2 separate regions of the Homo sapiens genome follow, and region 2 is linked to region 1. The links are contacts of gene promoters, found by promoter capture Hi-C in human tissues and cell types (Jung and others, 2019). All regions are on one chromosome and are shown on one strand. The core of a region is centred on a gene start or on the middle of the fragment in contact, and the rest is flanking DNA. Distances in the headings are between cores, read along the strand shown. Region 1 holds the start of C12orf71 (chromosome 12 open reading frame 71). Region 2 has its middle 36 kb from the start of C12orf71.

Region 1 (4,601 bases), core at 1,284-3,783:
CGGGCATGGTGGGTGGCTCACGCCTGTAATACCAGTACTTTGGGAGGCCAAGGAGGGCGGATCACTTGAGGTCAGGAGTTTGAGACCAGCCTGGCCAACATGGAGAAATCTCGTCTCTACTAAAAACACAAAAAATTAGCCAGGCATGGTGGTCCATGCCTGTAATCCCCAGCTACTCAGGAGGCTGAGGCAGGATAATCGCTTGAACCCGGGAGGTGGAGGTTGCAGTGAGCTCAGACCATGACACTACACTCTGGCCTGGGTGACAAAGTGAGACACCATCTCAAATAAATAAATAAATGCCAGGGAACATGTGGCTTCTGACTTAAACACCTTCCAGGATTAATCCAGGTCCACAATCACTCAGGGGAGTTGTGAGCAGTCTGTGGGCACCTGCCAGGCTGCCTCTGTTGGGTAGTAGAAGCTGCTTCTTTCCAACTCTAACTCTGCCTATTTCTTCTATCATGTCATCAGAATTCCTTAAACATCTTATTTAACAGAATATACAAATTTAAGCCAGTTCTACAGTGAAAAACCTGAGAGTGAGTCACGACAAACTTTAACTGTAATCTTGTATAATGGAAATGGAGAGAGACAAATATTGGGGAAAGATCTTAAGAAAACTGATGAATCCAATAGGTAGGTCAGATAAGTGTTTCTTGGCTTTCTGCTTTCCATTTGTAAGCATGTCTCTGTGTGTGTATGTATGTGTATGTTTATACCCATGCCCCTTATTTAGAGCTCTAAATCTCCTAAGGACGGGAACCATCTGCCACCTGACAAGAGAGAAGTAAACTCCATGCATTCGTTCTTCTACACTCAAGAGGGATCCTCTTCAGCCTAGGATGGTATGGGCATAGAATATTTTGGAAACAAAGGGATAGATTCTGTGGCTTTCTGTCCCCTTTTTTCCTTTTCTCTTTCCACATTCCTGGCTCTAACTTGGTTCTTTCTGTTGCCATGGTAACCAACAGTCTCAGAACACAGACTTCTGACAGCTGGACTTTTAGCCACGGAGACTCGGGATGTGAAGGATTTCTCGTGTCTCCTTTTTTTGCCTCAGGAGTTAGCAGCACTTCTTCCACGTGGGCAGCCACCAGAGCAGGGTGTGACAGTCTTTTGTTTGTGTGTGTGTGTCTGTGTGTGCGCGCGTGCACGCGTGCATGCACGTGCACATTCTTCCAGCCCTACTTACTCTGGGGCTTCACAGAAAAAGCTGGACTAAACAGTGTCATCAGACGGTGGGAGGATGGGCATCTAAATACCAAAACCTTCTGGAAAGTAATTTGGTATCAACTACCACAAGACTTTAATATATTTATGGGGTTTGGTCCATTAATCCTACATATAGAAAAATAAGAGACATAGTCAAAGATTTATGGAAAAGCGGGTTTATTACAGATTTATTTAGCATTAATAAGAAGTGGTTAAAAATTGCAGAGTAACCATATATATGTTTGTTGTAGGCTATGGGATAAAATAATTTCAGTTTCAACTATATGTCATATCCACATTTACATATATGTATATGTGTATGTGGACATATTGTATAAATGTACAGATATGTATATGTGTGTTTATATAAATAGAAAAGATAAGGAAGTCCATCAAAATGTTTTGATAGTTATCATTATCTTTAGAAGGTAGGACTACAGCATATTTATTTCATCTTCATACTTTCCTATATTTTTCCAATTTTATACAATGATCATCCTTTTCTTTTATGATACAAGATCTTACAACCACAGTAGGACAAATGATGAGAAGTGGAGATGCTTAGTAGAGAGGATTATAATACAATGAAATAAGTTTTAAAAGGGAGAGGGCTGCCTCTTCTGCCCTTCACTGAGAGATTGTAAAAACTGGATAACACTGGCCAGGCCTGGTGGCTCATGCCAGTAATCCCAGCACTTTGGGAGGCCGAGGCAGGTAGATCACGAGGTCAGGTCAAGACCTTTCTGGCTAACATGGTGAAACCCCTTCTCTACTAAAAATACAAAAAATTAGCTGGGCATGGTGGCATGTGCCTGTAGTCCTAGCTACCCGGGAGGCTGAGGCAAGACAATCTCTTGAATCCAGGAGACGGAGGTTGCGGTGAGCTGACATCACACCACTGAACTCCAGCCTGGACAACAGAGCGAGGCTCCATCTCAAAAAAAAAAACAAAAACAAACAAAAACTATTGGATAATACTTCTATCTAAATGGGGTAGTTCTGAATAGAAAAGGGAATGGGGCCGGGTGTGGTGGCTCACACCTATAATCCCAGCACTTTGGAGGCAAAGGTGAGTGGATCACCTGAGGTCAGGAGTTCGAGACCAGCCTGGTCAACATGGTGAAACCCCATCTCTACTAAAAATACAAAAATTAGCCAGGTGTGGTGGCGTGTGCTTGTAGTCCCAGCTACTCGGGAGGCTGAGGTTGCAGTGAGCCAAGATCACACCACTGCATTCCAGCCTGGGAGACAGAGTGAGACTTCGTCTCAAAAAAAAAAAAAGAAAAAAGAGAAGGGAATGGATAATGTTTTTGCTTAAGTACTATGACTCTCTTCTCCTTAGTCCCACCTATTTTTTCTTTTTTCTTTTTTGAAGCTTCTCAAGTTGAGAGAAATTTGTGCCTTTGAACTCCATGGCATATTCATCCTCTAACAGCGACATAGAGGACGACAGCTCCAAATCCAATTCCAACCTGAGCCTCTCTGTGGGCTATTTCCCCTGTGAGGACACCCCCTGTGAGGACACAACCTCCTGGGAAGATGCACCTTCCAAGGGTCCTTCCATCCACTTTCTGCCTCCCGTCCAAGGGGCATGGGGGACTGAAAGGATAGGGAGACGCATGAAGAGACAAGACCAAATTCAGGATGAACCAGAGCAGTTTTGCAAACTAAGCATCTTCCTGGCCTGGGACGTGGACATTGGCTCCGATAACACAGACTCAAGAGCTAATAGGCTTCTAAATGGAGACAACCTGTGGATAGACAAGTTACCAAAAGAGAGAACAAAACTGTCTGTTGGCAAACTGAATAATCTTGTGCAAGAGTTTCAGATATTTCTAGAAAATCTGAAAGATGATGACGCTGTATTTCCTGAAACTGCTCAGCAAGATTTCCAGCTATCCAGCGGCTCCCCTCCGGAAATGGTTCAGGTCAGTCATCAGGAATATGATGCTTGTCAAGACCTGCCCAAGTGCAAGCCACCAGAAAATAAAGATGTTATGTAGTCTCCACAGACTCCTCTAAGGCTTAAGGGACATGAGCTGGCTGAGGAGAGCAGAGATGCCTCACAGGACAGGAAGGGATAGGCCTGGGTTGAACCACAGAATCTTATGACCACTAGGAGGAGGCAGGTCCCAGGGGGACTGACGTGATACCAGTGGGAGACAACAAGGAAAGGAGTCAGGGTGAAGCTGTAGGGAAAAGACTGGGAATGCTGAGGGAAACAAGAGGGTAGCAAGCAAGGAGAAGGGCTAACTATATCTCCCTCCCCACCAAAAACGTATATGTTTAGTATTGATGAGCATTGAAACTCTGCATTGACACTTGGGCTATTTTTGGTAAAAGGATGTGAGTTCCACAAATGAGTAAACGTTGATTTGGCTGTTGTCATGGTTATTCCTACCTAACACATCCTTCATTTTCATGGCAGATGATAAGCCAGGCAACCGCCAGCCAAAGGACAAGCGCTCCAGAGATCTCCTCAATCCTGTCAGAGCAGCCAGAGAAGGATGACACTCCTTCACACACACAGGCCCAGTGCTGCCTGAACTTTGGGTGGGCCTTCAGCTGGCTGAGGCAGCGTATCCTCCCCTCTCTGCTGAGGAGGGATCACCCTGTGAATGCCACCAAAAGTCCCCATCGGTCAGCACCAACGAAAAGACTCTTTCACAGAGGCAAGAGAATTCAACCTCAAGAAACCCTTGAATTAGGACATCCCATATAGACAGATTTTTAAACTTTTTGGAAAGTTTAAAATAATCCATAATAAGGATTCCATTAATAATCCCCATCAGTTTGTTTTTTCCTCAATAAACAAAATAAATGCTCTTGTTACCCCACATCTTCCTCTCCCAGCACACCATCTTGACTCACATTTCAAGCATATGTGGGCCAGGCGCAGTGGCTCACACCTGTAATCCCAGCGCTTTGGGAGGCTGCGGCAGGCAGGTGGATCACCTGAGATCAGGAGTTTGAGACCAGCCAGGCCAACATGGCAAAACCCCATCTCTACTAAAAATACAAAAATTAGCTTGGTGTGGTGGGGGGCGCCTATAATCCCAGCTACCCAGGAGGCTGAGGCAGGAGAATCGCTTGAACCTGGGGGCAGAAGTTGCAGTGAGCTGAGATCACACCACTTCACTCCAGCCTAGGCAAAAGAGCAAAACTCTATCTCAAATAAATAAATAAATAAATAAATAAATAAATAAATAAAAATTAAAGAAAAATTTAAAAAAAGAAAAGAAAGTATATGTGTTGTCTAGAAGACAAATTTATTCTCAGGAAATTTTAAGTAGTATTATGCTTCCTAAACTGAAGTATTCTTTTTCTCTCCTCTCACCCATTCTTACTGTATTTTACCCTAGTTTACCTATTTTATGTGTTTTAAC
Region 2 (4,601 bases), core at 752-3,251, 37 kb before region 1:
AGGCTGAAATTATGTCACAATCTACACATTGGTTTACTGTTAAAAACTATACTGAGATAATGCTTGCAAAAAATTTGGTCATCGACAGGAAAAAGTCAAGACAATGTGATTTTCAACATTCACTAATGCATTTCAGGTACCAGACTAAGCACCCGAATAAAGCTCTTACTATGTTATAGATACTGTGATAGAGCAAACACCTGGGGAATAAAGGGCACATGCTGTTTCACAGAAACCTTTGCCCTCTGTTTCTAAGCAGCCAAATCTCACCACTTTATTTTCACAAATATATTTATAGTTCTCGTACCAGCTTCTTGGATGAGTTTCCAATTATGCATTCATTCTAACATAATGCCATATAATTGTTGTAAAATATTATTTTGATTTAAAGTCATTTCACCTAAGGATTTTCCAGAACTTTACTGACTTCCAAAGGTGAAAAATATCACCACCATTTATTGTGGAAATACTACAGCATGAAAATACTCAATTTATGTGTCTACAGTTACCCAGAAAACAAGGAATCAACAAGTTAGGTTATGAACCTAGGTCATTCTAAAAAATTTACTCACACACTCAGCCAGTGCACCATCCAAAGAAGTAGGACACACATTTAATAACCACACTCCAGTATGGGAAACTCAAAACATGAAAACTGAGAGCATAAAGGATCAAGCTGAATTACATAATTAAGTGGCTTGCATTCTCTTTCATTTAAAAAGTATTTTGCAGTTCCGTTCCAAGAAGGCCGAATAGGAACAGCTCTGTCTGCAGCTCCCAGCATGATCAATGCAGAAGACGGGTGATTTCTGCATTTCCAACTAAGGTACCTGGTTCATCTCATTGGGACTGGTTGGATAGTGGGTGCAGCCCATGGAGGGCGAGGCAAAGCAGGGCTGGGCATCGCCTCACCCGGGAAGTGCAAGAGGTCAGGGGATTTCCCTTTCCTAGCCAAGAGAAGCCATGACAGACTGTACCTGGAAAAACGGGACACTCTCGCACAAATACTGTGCTTTTCCCATGGTCTTAGCAACCGGCAGACCAGGAGATTCCCTCTCATACCTGGATTGGTGGGTCCCATGCCCACGGAGCCTTGCTCACTGGCTAGCAGCAGTCTGAGATTGACCTGCAAGGCTGTAGCCTGGCTGGGGGAGGGGCGTCTGCCATTGCTGAGGCTTGAGTAGGTAAACAAAAGTAGCCAAGGGAAGCTTGAACTGGGCAGAGCCCACTGCAGCTCAGCAAGGCCTACTGCCTCTATAGACTACACCCCTGGGGGCAGGGCATAGCTGAACAAAAGACAGCAGACTTCCACAGACTTAAACGTCCCTGTCTGAAAGCTCTGAAGAGAGCAGGGGCTCTCCCAGCATGGTGCTTGAGCTCTGAGAATGGACAGACTGCCTCCTCAAGTGGGTCGCTGACCCCCATGTAGCCTAACTGGAAGACATCTCCCAGTAGGAGCTGACAGACACCTCATACAGATGAGTGCCCCTCTGGGATGAAGCTTCCAGAGGAAGGATCAGGCACCAATATTTGCTGTTCTGCAATAATTGCAGTTCTGCAGCCTCTGCTGGTGATACCCAGGCAAACAGGGTCTGGAGTGGACCTCCAGCAAACTCCAACAGACCTGAAGCTGAGGGACCTGACTCTTAGAAGGAAAACTAACAAACAGAAAGGAATAGCATCAACATCAACAAAAAGGACATCTACACCAAAACACCATCTGTAGGTCACCAACATGAAAGACCAAAGGTAGATAAAACCACAAAGATGGGGAGAAACCAGAGCAGAAAAGCTGAAAATTCTAAAAACCAGAGCACCTCTTCTCCTCCAAAGGATCATAGCTCCTCGCCAGCAACAGAACAAAGAATGACTTTGACAAGTTGACAGAAATAGACTTCAGAAGGTTGGTAATAATAAACTTCTTTGAGCTAAAGGAACATGTTCTAACCCATCACAAAGAAGGTAAAAACCTTGAAAAAAGGTTAGATGAATGGCTAACTAGAATAAGGAGTGTAGGGAAGACCTTAAATGACCTGATGGAGCTGAAAACCATGGCATGAGAACTTTGTGATGGATGCATAAGCTTCAATAGCCAATTCCATCAAGTGGAAGGAAGGGTATCAGTGATTAAAGATCAAATTAATGAAATAAAGCAAGAAGACAAGTTTAGAGTTTTTTCTCTAAAAACTCTAAAGTAAAAAGAAACGAACAAAGTAAAAAGAAACAGAAAAGAAACTCTAAAGTAAAAAGAAACGAACAAAGCCTCCAAGAAATATGGGACTATGTGAAAAGACCAAATCTACGTTTGATTGGTGTACCTGAAAGTGATGGGGAGAATGGAGCCAAGTTGGAAAACACTCTGCAGGATACTATCCAGAAGAATTTCCCCAACCTAGCAAGGCAGGCCAACATTCAAATTCAGGAAATACAGAGAACACCACAAAAATACTCCTCGAGAAGAGCAACTCCAAGACACATAATTGTCAGATTCACCAAAGTTGAAATGAAGGAAAATATGTTAAGGGCAGCCAGAGAGAAAGGTCGGGTTACCCACAAAGGGAAGCCCATCAGACTAACAGCTGATCTCTCGGCAGAAACCCTACAAGCCAGAAGAGGGTGTGGGCCAATATTCAACATTCTTAAAGAAAAGAATTTTCAAGCCAGAATTTCATACCAGCCAAACTAAGCTTCATAAGTGAAGGAAAAATAAAATCCTTTACAGACAAGCAAATGCTGAGAGATTTTGTCACCACCAGGCATGCCTTACAAGAGCTCCTGAAGGAAGCACTAAACATGGAAAGGAACAACCAGTACCAGCCACTGCAAAAGCATGCCAAATTATAAAGACCATCAATGCTAGGAAGAAACTGCATCAATTAACGGGCAAAACAACCAGGGAACATCATAATGACAGGATCAAATTCCCACATAACAATATTAACCTTAAATGTAAATTGGCTAAATGCCCCAATTAGAAGACACAGACTGGCAAACTGGATAAAGAGTCAAGACCCATCAGTGTGCTGTATTCAGGAGACCCATCTCATGTGCCAAGACACACATAGGCTCAAAATAAAGGGATGGAGGAAGATCTACCAAGCAAATGGAAAGCAAAAAAAAAAGCAGGGGTTGCAATCCTAGTCTCTGATAAAACAGACTTTAAACCTACAAAGATCAAAAGAGACAAAGTAGGCCATTACATAATGGTAAACGGATCAACTCAACAAGAAGAGCTAACTATCCTAAATATATATGCACCCAACACAGGAGCACCCAGATTCATAAAGCAAGTTCTTAGAGACTTATAAAGAGACTTGGACTCCCACACAATAATAGTGGGAGACTTTAACACCCCACTGTCAACATTAGACAGATCAAGGAGACAGAAAGTTAAAAAGGATATCCAGGACTTCAGCTCTGCACCAAGAAGACCTAACAGACATCTACAGAACTCTCCACCACAAATCAACAGAATATACATTCTTCTCAGCACCACATTGCCCATATTCTAAAATTAATCACATAATTGGAAGTAAAGCACTCCTCAGCAAATGTAAAAGAACAGAAATCACAACAAACTGTCTCTCAGACCACAGTGCAATCAAACTAGAACTCAGGATTAAGAAACTCACTCAAAACTGCACAACTACAAGGAAGCTGAACAACTGGCTCCTGAATGACTACTGGGTAAATAACGAAATGAAGGCAGAAATGAAGATGTTCTTTGAAACCAATGAGAACAAAGACACAATGTACCAGAATCTCTGGGACACATTTAAAGCAGTGTGTAGAGGGAAATTTACAGCACTAAATGCCCAGAAGAGAAAGCAAGAAAGATCTAAAATTGACACTCTAACATCACAATTAAAAGAACTAGAGAAGCAAGAGAAAACAAATTCAAAAGCTAGCAGAAGGCAAGAAATAACTAAGAGCAGAGAAGAACCAAAGGAGATAAAGACATAAAAAACCCATCAAAAATCAATGAATCCAGGAGCTGGTTTTTTGAAAAGATCAACAAAATTGATAGACCACTGACCACTAGCAAGACTAATAAAGAAGAAAAGAGAGAATAATCAAATAGACGCAATAAAAAATGATAAAGGGGATATCACCACCGATCCCACAGAAATACAAACTACCATCAGAGCATGCTATAAACATCTCTATGCAAATAAACTAGAAAATCTAGAAGAAATGGATAAATTCCTCAACACATACACCCTCCCAAGACTAAACCAGGAAGAAGTTGAATCTCTGAATAGGCCAATAACAGGCTCTGAAATTGAGGCAATAATTAATAGCTTATCAACCAAAAAAAGTCCAGGACCAGATGGATTCACAGCCGAATTCTACCAGAGGTACACAGAAGAGCTGGTACCATTCCTTCTGAAATTATTTCAATCAATAGAAAAAGAGAGAGTCCTCCCTAACTCATTTTATGAGGCCAGCACCATCCTGATACCAAAGCCTGGCAGAAACACAACAAAAAAAGAGAATTTTAGACCAATATCCCTGATGAACATTGATGCAAAAATCCTCAATAAAATACTGGCAAACCGAATCCAGCAGTGCATCAAAAAGCTTATCTACCACTATCAAGT

The links. Contacts are between HindIII fragments. The study calls those that stand out against the background at their distance.
Region 2: a contact is called between a fragment that was not itself captured here and the fragment with the promoter of C12orf71 in region 1, in 1 of the 25 tissues and cell types used here (pancreas).

Annotation. Positions count from the first base shown.
Region 1 is chr12:27,080,510-27,085,110 of GRCh38, reverse strand. C12orf71 (chromosome 12 open reading frame 71) reads left to right here and starts at 2,533. Exons shown (of 2, transcript NM_001080406.2): 1 at 2,533-3,143; 2 at 3,644-4,054. The coding sequence starts at 2,628. The coding sequence ends at 3,937. The HindIII fragment of the contact is 8,877 bases long and covers 1-4,601 here.
Region 2 is chr12:27,116,572-27,121,172 of GRCh38, reverse strand. It overlaps the pseudogene LOC124902904. Among named protein-coding and RNA genes, the nearest start is that of C12orf71, 36 kb to the right of the region's middle. The HindIII fragment of the contact is 3,267 bases long and covers 368-3,634 here.